Linked DNA regions of Homo sapiens: regions 2 and 3 are each linked to region 1. The links are contacts of gene promoters, found by promoter capture Hi-C in human tissues and cell types (Jung and others, 2019). All regions are on one chromosome and are shown on one strand. Each heading gives the region's core, a stretch centred on a gene start or on the middle of the fragment in contact. The rest is flanking DNA. Distances are from core to core; before and after follow the strand shown. Region 1 holds the start of ANKRD29 (ankyrin repeat domain 29). Region 2 overlaps ANKRD29 (ankyrin repeat domain 29). Region 3 overlaps ANKRD29 (ankyrin repeat domain 29).

The links. The method cuts DNA at HindIII sites, captures the fragments that hold promoters and counts their contacts. A contact is called where the count stands out against the background at its distance.
Region 2: a contact is called between a fragment that was not itself captured here and the fragment with the promoter of ANKRD29 in region 1, in 1 of the 25 tissues and cell types used here (mesendoderm cells).
Region 3: a fragment that was not itself captured here is called in contact with the fragment with the promoter of ANKRD29 in region 1 in 1 of the 25 tissues and cell types used here (aorta).

Annotation. Positions count from the first base shown.
Region 1 is chr18:23,661,601-23,665,257 of GRCh38, forward strand. It overlaps ANKRD29 (ankyrin repeat domain 29), which reads right to left and starts at 1,311. Exons shown (of 10, transcript NM_173505.4): 1 at 1,110-1,311. The coding sequence starts at 1,130. The HindIII fragment of the contact is 14,259 bases long and covers 1-3,657 here.
Region 2 is chr18:23,624,141-23,627,728 of GRCh38, forward strand. All of the region lies in intron 6 of ANKRD29 (ankyrin repeat domain 29), which reads right to left. Among named protein-coding and RNA genes, the nearest start is that of ANKRD29, 37 kb to the right of the region's middle. The HindIII fragment of the contact is 9,770 bases long and covers 1-3,588 here.
Region 3 is chr18:23,600,394-23,603,855 of GRCh38, forward strand. ANKRD29 (ankyrin repeat domain 29) reads right to left here. Exons shown (of 10, transcript NM_173505.4): 10 at 1-916. The coding sequence ends at 833. Among named protein-coding and RNA genes, the nearest start is that of NPC1, 16 kb to the left of the region's middle. The HindIII fragment of the contact is 5,934 bases long and covers 1-3,462 here.

The DNA of each region.
Region 1 (3,657 bases), core at 61-2,560:
TGGAGGGTAAGGAAGGAGAAATAGCTTGAACCCGGGAGGCGGAAGTTGCAGTGAGCTGAGATCACACCATTGCACTCCAGCCTGGGCAACAAGAGCAAAACTCCGTCTCAGGAAAAAAAACTTTAAAGTCATTCACATTCGTCTGCTTCGTTCCATTCTCACCACCTATGCACTGGTCCAGTACCATTTCTTAAAAAGATGACAACATCTTCCAGCTCCAACCCTCTTCTCCAAACCTAGCCAGAGATCTTTGCAACATGCACATCTCGCCATGTCACTCCTCTGCTTACATGAGCTATTGTCGGCAACGGGATTACAGTGGCTTAGGAGTCAGACACACTTGGGTTTCAGTCTTAACACCATAACTTATTGGCTGCAAAACCGTGGGTGAGTTAATTTCTCTATATCTTAGTTTTCTCATTTGAAAAAAAAAAAAAAAAGAGCCACGAAGAGCACCTCCCACAGGTCTCCCCCAGGGTTGAGACCATACACACCATGTCCTTGGTTCAGAGTCAGGCACATTTGAACTGTTTAATACATTTTAACTGCTATTTTTATTAAACCCTTTCAATCGAGGCAAATCAACCTCTTTCATCCTAAAATGTGGGGATTAGATGGAATGACTTTAATCAACTCTTTTGAGACAAGACACCTTTGGACCCTGAAGCCTCCCTGGGTGCTGGCCACCCCTCCGGGGAGGAGGCATCCGTGGGTGCAGCTGGTACTCCTGCATGAGGACCCAGAGGGTCAGGGTCGGGGACTCCTTCTGCTGCAGGACAGCGCTGACCCCAGGCTTCTTACCCGCCCCCGACCTGTTACCCGGCGACAGTCCCCGCCGCCCCGTCGCCGGGCACAGACTCAGCCGATCCACAGCCATGAGTGCGAAGCCTCTCAGGCAGGGCAGGCAGGCAAACCGCAAACCCACAGGGCGCACCCAGCCCCGCCGCTTCCTCCCGGGCCTCGCCCGCAGCTGGAGGAGAGAGGAAGGAGGAGGCGGCGGGCAGCGGGCAGCGCCCACCCCATCCCACCCCATCCCACCCCACCCGACCCCGCGGGCCCGGCCGCCCGAGCCCGGCCCCAGCCCTGACCCCGGAGTCCCGGTCGCTCACCTTGAAGGACATCCTGCACATGTCCGCGGCCGCCCGAGCGGGAGCCGGCGCGCTTTGGGCCCGGGGCGCCTTGTCCTCCCCGGCCCTTCACTCTCCCGGGGCTCTCGGCGTTCCGCAGAGGGGCGGCCTCCGACGCCGCGCGCTCCCGCCGCCCGGCCCGGCAGCAGCCGCCGCACACAGGGCCGGGCCGAAGGGGCGGCGCGGGGGCGCGCGCGCGCGCACACTACACATGGGGTGTCGCGTGGACGCGCTCCAGGACCTGCCACACACGCGCGTGCACAAACACCCCAAACTCCGCACGCACTGTGCACTTTCCACACACGTCCACACTTCCACACTCACTCGTCCACACACACACTCCAAACTCCACACACATTGTGCATACGCTCCACATTCCACACACACAGAGGTTCCACACACATACTTTCCACACTCACGCCCACTCACCCGCATGTACTCACACACAAACTCCATACATATCCTCCCAAATAGACTGGTCTGCCCCAGAGGACTCCCAACCTTCATTACAGCACAAATATTATAATGATGTAAAAATGAAGCTTGAGGAAAAAATTCATCCAATAGCTATTTTCGTTATAATTTCTTTCTCGGTTTCCTGGGAAACTTTTTTCTCCTGGGGAAAATATCTAGGAAACAAACCTTTTGATTGCACAAACAATAAGTGGTCTTTTCCTCTTTGAAGGGCAAAGGCCAATTTTGGAATAGACTCATACCCCTCCTCCTCCTCCGCGTTATTAATCCAGCAGTTCCCTCCTCCTCTGGGTCTGATGCTGCAGCCCTGGAGTATTGCAGTATGTGTGTCCACTCCTGCTGCCTGCCCAGGATTGGTTTGGGCGAAGTAAAACTGGGAGTTTTAAGTATAAACGGCAACAACAGCTCTTTGAGAGCATTTTAGAAAAGTGAAAGTAAAAAAGTAGCCCAGGCATAGTGGCTCACGCCTATAATCCCAACTCTTTGGGAGGCCAAAGGCGGGCAGATCACTTGAGTCCAGGAGTTCGAGATCAGACTGGCCAACATGGCAAAACTCTATCTCTACTAAAAATACAAAAATTAGCCAGGCGTGGTGGTGCGCACCTGTAGTCCCAGCTACTCGGGAGGCTGAGGTGGGAGGATCGCTTGAACCTGGGAGGTTGAGGCTGCAGTGAGCCAAGATTCGGTCACTGCACTCCAGCCTGGGCAACAGAGCAAGACTCTGCCTCAAAAATAAAAATAAAAACAAAACAAAAAAATAGTATAAAAATGGAGGTCTTACCCCCTCAAACTATAAGAATCCACTCATTCATTCTCCCCCTCCTTCCCTCTTCTCAATTAAATTTGTAACGAATATTTAATTTAAAAGGTAGAAAACAATTACAAATAAAAGTTAATGATAAAAATTAAAATGTTTAACCTTCATGGATAAATTGTATTACTTTGTGCTTAAAACAACTTTAAATTAAAAACATTCTGAACTTTTATAGAAAATTCCAATTTTAAAAATAAGGACTCTAAACATTTTCCTTGCCTTGAGTGCCTATAAATGACACAGTTTTTAAGTTGCCACACAACGTTATTATATAAAAATCAAGCATCAGAGGTTTTGCTTTAATAGTTTTTTGTTTGTTTGTTTGTTTTTTCTTCTCAGATGGAGTTTCGCTCTTTTGCCCAGGCTGAAGTGAAGTGGCATGATCCTGGCTCACTGCAACCTCCACCCCCCGGGTTCAAGCAATTCTCCTGCCTCAGCCTCTCGAGTAGCTGGTATTATAGGCTCCTGTCACCGTGCCCAGCTAATTTTTGTATTTTTAGTAGAGACAGGGTTTCGCCATGTTGGCCAGGCTGGTCTCGAACTACTGACCTCAGGTGATCCACCTGGTTCGGCCTCCCAAGGTGCTAGGATTACAAACGTGAGCCACCGCGCCTGGTCTGCTTTAATAGTTTTGATAAATAAAAGGGAGAAAGGAAAGAACTAATATTTTGAGTGTTTTCTAGGTACAAGGTGCTTTCCTTATAAACATTTTATGGGGTGAGTATTAACCCATTCCACGGATGAAAAAACTAAGATTCTGAGAGATTGGAGTAATTTGCTAATAAGTGATAGGGCTAGGTGTTTGTCTAGCTCCAAAGCCTGTTTCCTTTCCGTTACACTTGAGCTCAAAGCTGCTTTTCTCTGGCCAGGGTGCTGATGGGATTCTTGTCAGTCTCTGGAAAGAACGTGCCTAACACCGTCTGACACACGCGGTTAAACTCATCTTCATATAAACAGCTCTGAAATGGAACAAAGCTCTCATGGTCACAACAGGCAATTCTTTCTAAAATGGTCCACTCCAAACTTTAATAGTGACCCACTGGACCTAATACAAGATTTAATCTGCACGGCCCAGTTTTCTTATCCAAACATCTTCTCACTACCCAAACAGAGCCTCTCCATCCTTGTCATCCTGTCAAACAAAAGGGATAAAGGAAAAAACTAATATTTTGAGTGTTTTCTAGGTACAAGGTGCTTTCCTTATAAACATTTTATGAGGTAGGTATTATACCTATTCCATAG
Region 2 (3,588 bases), core at 824-3,323, 37 kb before region 1:
TGTGAAGTTATAACCTCTACAGCACTTTTTTTAAAAAGGTAATGGCCAGGCATGGTGGTTCACACCTGTAATCCCAGCACTTTGGGAGGCCGAGGTGGGGCAAATCACTTGAGGCCTGGAGTTTGAGACTAGCCTGGCCAATATGGCAAAACTCTGTCTCAACTAAAAATACAAAAGTTAGCCGGGTGTGGTGGTGCATGCCTGTAGTCCCAGCAACTCAGGATTCTGAGGCAGGAGAATCACTTGAGCCCGGGAGGCAGATGTTGCAGTGAGCCAAGATCATGCCTCTGCACTCCAGCCTGGGCGACAGAGTGAGACTCCATCTCAAAAAAAAAAAAAAAAAAAAAAAAAAAAAAAAAAGGTAATAGAACATTTAGCCTGAAGAAGAATGAGATTCATGGGGTTATGATAGCTGTCTTTTACTATGTGTGTGTATATCAAGTAGAAAAGGATTTAGACCAATTTTTCAGACCAAGTGATAGAAAGAAGACAGATGGGTGAAAGCTGCATGGAGACTTGGGGTCAATGTATAAAAGTTTAATGAGTGTTGGCTAAGACCAAAGAAACTGATCAGAGAGGAGTGAGTTCTCCATGCCTAGAGGTGTTCAACAGTAGCTGATTATCATAGAAAGGATTCGAGTACCGATGGATGGCTAAATAGAGTGAGTTTTATAGTTTCCTCCAACTCTGTTATTCCCTCATTTCATTCGAGATCACTTTTACAGCCAGATCACAGCATGAGATGGAGTATATGACACAACCTGTATTAGAGACTAACCTTGTATGGTCTTATGTAGGCTCCTGAGAGTATTTGGAAAAAAGAACTAAAACCATCCTCTTCTGTGGGAATGAGTATCTGAAGCGGCACTAGCTCTTTGCTTCTACGATTTCCAGCCGTCACACTTGGGTTACTTCTACCTACAGGGTTAGGCCAGTCAGAAAGTCTTGGGGACCAATTCTATTTGAAGTTGGGAGTCCAAGAGCTGTGAGGAATCCTGCCCGTGGCAGAGGGAGTTCAATATTGAGATAATTTTCTTACCCACCCTACCCTGCCCTGGAGCCTATTTCTTATGATTGTCCCTTGCACCGTGTGCCTGGCCCAGCAAATGGGTCTGTAAGAGATTTTACCAGATGCTGCATTGCCCATGGTCTGACTCTATCCTCCCCAGTCAAGGGTGATGGGACTGAGGATAGGCAGGCCAGCCAGTCACTGTGGCCTGGTGCACAAAGATGAGCTGTGACAATGACATGGCTATTCCCAGAGGTTGGCAGTCTGATCCATAAACCTGGGGACCACATACAAGATAAGTAAGCAGACAAAACTGGTAAAAAAAGAAAGGAGTGGGGAGAAACAGAGATATGAAGAGACTTTGAGATGACAGAGAACACACGACTCACTAGAGAAAGTGCAGCCTTGATTTCTGATGGGTTTTCTGTTCCAATGAGGCCTGGTTGGAATAGGAATGATAATAACAGCAATACCTAACATTGCACTGGGTGTGTATCAGCTACTGCATTAAGAGTTTTGCAGGGATTATTTTATTTAATTATCACAGTAGTCCTAAAATACTGAGACTCAGGGACAGTAGGCAACCTGCTAAGGTCACACAGTTAATAAGCAAAATGGGGCCTCTGTTTCATTTTAAGATATCTATATCCCCATAATTTCCAAGCTGCTCTCCACCCAAAAAATCTGGGTCTGCTCCCTAGCTGCCTCTTACAGTCTTCCTGGGGCTTATGCTTATGAGTCTGGGCCCTATATCTGGAGCCTTCTTCTAACTCTCAGGCACTGATCACTAAATGCTGCAGGCTTCCAGACCTGCTCTGCACCAGCCATGGGGATCTTCTGGCAGTCGATACACTTTTTCTGAGTGTGTACCATGTGCAAACGAAACAAGACAGAGTCCCTGCCCTTGCCAAGCAGCAAGGACTTCCTATGGCTGTCTGTTCCCATTTCCAAACCCCCAGGATTCTACGCTAATCTTTTGGCTCCTTCTCCCACTGCCATTGATGGATTCACCCCTCTAAGCTTCCGACCTGGGAGAACGTTTAATTTCTGGGTCCAGCTACTCTGTGTACAAGTCAAGGCTTCTGTTAGGAGATGGCACTTTATTAGATGACTTTTCCTCCAGCCTTCAAAGAAATACTGTTTAGCACATGAAAAAGACTAGATAGAGATGAGTTAACTGACTAACCTCAGCTCTGGGTTAACAGGATCAGACCTTTGCATTCTATTAAAGTATTGTTTTAATAAGGTGGGTGAGTGGAGTTGGGAAAATATATGTCGAGGCATTTGGTTAATAGAAAAATAGAAATAGCCACTCAGCTAGTGATTAAAAAGGTCTGACTCATAGCAACTCAACTTGGTGAGGACACGTGGAAAGAAATGAAAATGAATTGTTAGAGTGAAATCTATATTTCAATGATCTCTGTGACTCTTGACCTTTTGGCTTAGGACAATATGGAAGGAAAATATTTTTTGAAGTTTCAAATCAAGAACATAGTCTTCCTACTGTCTGGCTATGACTAGATTTGGGATTATGATTCCTCATCCCAAAGTACTAAAAAGGTCTTCATTTAGTTCTCAGTGATAGAGTTACAAAGAAAAGTCATCCCACTACCGTTCAGATTCCCTGAAGCTCATATCAAATGTCAGCTGAGTAATTTCAATGTAACTTTGTCAACATCCTGTTACAGGATACCGTAATAAAATGGTAGGGCTTCATAGAATGTCAGTGCAACAATTACAAATCAGATTTAGCCAAAAGTATTAGGAAATTAAACCAGGCAGGTATTCCTGTCCTCATTTTGTAAATTCAAGGATTTTCCAATAATGACTCAATGTGTCAGCTGAGATTTCAGAATAAAACATTGGTTTCCAAATGCTCTACCTATAGAATATAGGTAGGCCATGTGCAGGCCATGTGCAGGCATGGCACTGTTTTCTTGGAACATAATAAATATGCAGAGTTTACACTTTCAGAGAAGACGGAACTTGAGCTAGTCTGACCTGGATAGATAACAACCTCTAATTATAAGCTCACAGTAGGTAATAAAAATTATTATGATTTGAGGGCACAATGGGGTGAGTGTACTCTGTAAAAAGGAAAAATTCCATTGCCTTTTTTCCCCAAAGCAATTCTTATTTTATAAGACACCCTTTTCCTGAATAACAATTCTTTTAGGGCTGAACTCAAAATAATTCAAAACAATTTCATTAGATGCAGTCTTTAGAAGTTGTAGCACTTGCTCCTTGACCAGAGGGTGGATCCCTGCACTCAAAGACTAGGTCATCCACTTTGACCAGGTTATCCTAACTCTTGAGGAAGAAAAAACAGCTATGGCGTGTTGTGGCTACTGCTGCAATGTTGGTTTACTCTTTAACTTCTTGGCTTCAACATCACGGCATGACTCATTTTAGGTTTAAGTGGGCATGGCTCATGCAACATTTGAAATATAATCTCTTATATCGACTTGGTTTTTTACAAGCAGTACTTTAGGCATATAAAGAATAAAATTCAAAGTGCCAGAAATTATTTTGGAAGGATGTACTAATAGAGAGACTTGATAATCTTGATAACCTCACAT
Region 3 (3,462 bases), core at 593-3,092, 61 kb before region 1:
CTTATAGAATAGGAAATAGATTCCCAACAATAGAGCCAAAATAAAAGACCAAAGAGACAAGCCTATATATTTCTCGTGGTTTATAAGTTTCTGAATTTCCAAATTTGCCACTGGTATTTTAACCTACCTACAATGTTGACTCTACGTAAAATTGATTTTTACATGTCAGGAATAAGATGAGGATCAACGAACAAATGCACAGTCTGTCTTTTCTATAGTTCAATAGTCCATCTTTGAATAGCACATAATGGAATGTCAGAAGTGGTTTTTTAATAATGTATGTTTACACTTCATTGATTTATAACAATCATGGCTATGGTTCTTGGGTAGAGGAGAATGTTTTATACTGGAATGACATACATATGTAGGTAAAATATGATAGATCTATATATTTTAGCACATCTACATTTAACACAAAAGCAAAAGTGCCTCAATCCATTGAAGGTCAGCTTTTCAGTCTTTTAAAGGAACAAAGCATTCTGTCTCCTTGCTTAGTACTGAGAACCCTGTCCACCTTAGAGTTTAACTGACAGGTCCAAGTTAGCATTGTTGAAAATGAGTTTCTGTGGAATCTGTGAACATGCCAGGCCCCCCGGGAGATGAGTTACAGGACACCATGAGAAGTCCATGGTGAAGGGGCAAGAGGGTCCCTGAGCTGTTTGGTTCTTGACTTCGTGCACAGAGCGTAGCTCTTCTTTGTCAGGGACCCACAGGATGGGCATTCTGGGCATCTTTTTTTTTCATAAAAGAATTTCCAACACTGCTTGAAATGCAATTTCTTTTTGGACAATGTGGTTAAGCTTTCTATCTTTCTGTCAAATATGGAGCTAAGTTAGCTCTTTCTGGGACCTTCTTTACTTCTCAGGAGACGCAATATACGTTCATTTTTGGTTAGTTCTGCCGGAAGTTCATTGGCCTGAAAGAAGAGAAGATGGGCATTAGTGAATCCCCATAGCTGGTGTGGTTTTAGGGACTCCAAAGAGGGGCATTTGACCCACTCTTTCTCCTTCACTAATGAAAAAAATCCACACTGGACTCACTCTTTTATATAAAGGTATTACAAATCTTCTTTAAATGTATAAATATTACTTGTTATATCCTTATCTCATTCTTAGAGACATTTTCCAGCCAGATCCCTTACTAGACTGTAATCTCTTAGGGGGAAGGGTCCAGATCTAATTAATCATTGTATCCTTATCTCCAGCACAATGCCCAGCATGTCTAAAATGTGCTCAATAAGTACCGGTCAAATTAAATGTTATACCTTATATGTATTTTATTATTATTATTTTTTGAGACAGGGTCTTGCTCTGTCACCCAGGCTGGAGTGCAGTGTTGCAATCATGGCTCACTGCAGCGTTGACCTCCCCAGCTCAAATGATCCTCCCACCTCAGCCTCCCGAGTAGCTGGGACCACAGATGTGCACCACTATGCTCGGCTAATTTCCAGAGATGGGGTTTGCCATGTTGCCCCAGCTGGTCTTGAACTCCTCGGTTTAAGTGATCCTTCTGCCTCAGCTTCCAAAGTGTTGGGATTACAGGCATCAGCCACCGTGCCCAGCCTACCTTATATTTATTAATGTATGACATGAGGTAGTCTGCCCACTAAGGACTTGGGACTGAGTCAGGACTCAGCACAGGTGTCTTTTTTTTTGTTTTTTGAGATGGAGTCTCACTTTGTCACCCAGGCTGGAGTGCAGTGGTGTGACCTCGGCTCACTGCAATCTCTGCCTCCTGGGTTCAAGCAATTCTCCTGCCTCAGCCTCCCGAGTGGCTGGGACTACAGGCATGTGCCACCATGCTCGGCTGAATTTTGTATTTTTAGTAGAGATGGGGTTTCGCCATTTAGCCAGGCTGGTCTTGAACTCCTGACCTCAAGTGATCCGCCCGCCTCCGCCTCCCAAGGTGCTGGGATTACAGGTGTGAGCCACCGCGCCCGGGCCAGATATCTTTTGATGAGAAGGCAGAGATAGGAAACCTCCAGAGCATAAGAGACACCCGGGAAAGAAGAGCATTGGTGGCTAACACCTTCCACCTTACTCAGTATCACTCGAAGGCCTTTCTTTTCACATTGCTGCTGAGATACATCCATTAGGCATCTAGTGAACCAGTCCCTACCATTGACAACAGGTGTGATGTGGAAGTGGCTCTCAAACCTGTTGGTTTCAGGACCCTTTATACTCTCAAAAATTACTGAAGAGTCTAACAAATTTTGTTTTTAACTTATTAAAAATGAAAGCTGAGGGCTATGCGCAGTGGCTCACACCTGTAATGCTAGCACTTTGAGAGGCTGAGGTGAGAGGACCACTTGAGCTCAGGAGTTGGAGACCAGCCTGGGCAACATAGTGAAACCTCATCTCTATTATTTAGAAAGAAAATATTTTCAAAAAGAAAAAAAAAAGAAATTAAAACTGAGAAAATTTTAAAAATATATTTATTAATTCACTAAAAATAATAAATCCAAGTTAATATAGTTATGAAAAATTAAATTTTCAAAAACAAGTAAAAATTCTCAGAAGAGTAGCACTGCTCAACAGCTTTACATATTTCTTTCATGTGTAGCTTAACAGAATACAATTGGATTCTCATATCTCCATCTGTATCCTGTCTATTGTGATATGCTGTTTTGGTAGAAGGATATAAAGAAAATTAAGCTTCACACAGATATGTAGCTGGAAAAGGAAGGAGTATTTTAACAGTCTTTTTGGATTGCTGTGGATATTATTCTCTGATGCCACATCAATACTCAACAAATGGTAGTTTCTTAAAGGTTAAATGCAATGTGGGATTTGAAACCATACCAATGAACTTTAAAACCCACAGGTTTATCTATTTATAGTTGGATCTTTTACCTATGCATGGTTTGTAACATGCACTGCTCATTTGGAAAATATCAGTTCACTGAGTTTGTAGAATGTTGGCACATTTCATTGTGCAATATCAAAAACTCACATTCTGGCTGGGCGTGGTGGCTCACGCCTGTAATCCCAGCACTTTGGGAGGCCAAGGCAAGTGGATCACCTGAGGTCACAAGTTTAAGACCAGCCTGGCCAATATGGCAAAAACCTGTCTCCACTAAAAATACAAAAATTAGCTGGGCGTGGTGGCACATGCCTGTAATCCCAGCTACTCAGGAGGCTGAGGCAGGAGAATCCCTTGAACCTGGGAGGCGGAGGTTGCAGTGAGCTGAGATCACGCCACTGCACTCCAGCCTGAGTGATAGTGAGAGAGACTCCATCTCACAAACAAACAAACAAAAAAACTGATCCATCAGAAAAGCCTTTAAGTTTTGGGAAGCTGTTAAGGTCATAGTGGTAGATACCTTGTTCTTTCAAGTAAAAATAGTGATCTATGAAAAAAGTGGCAGGTTCACTTTGCAATTCAAACAACTGCACAGGGACTGTGGAGGCTAATGCAACTCCATCTTGGATGCTAATCTGCCATGTTTACTTCTTTTTTTTT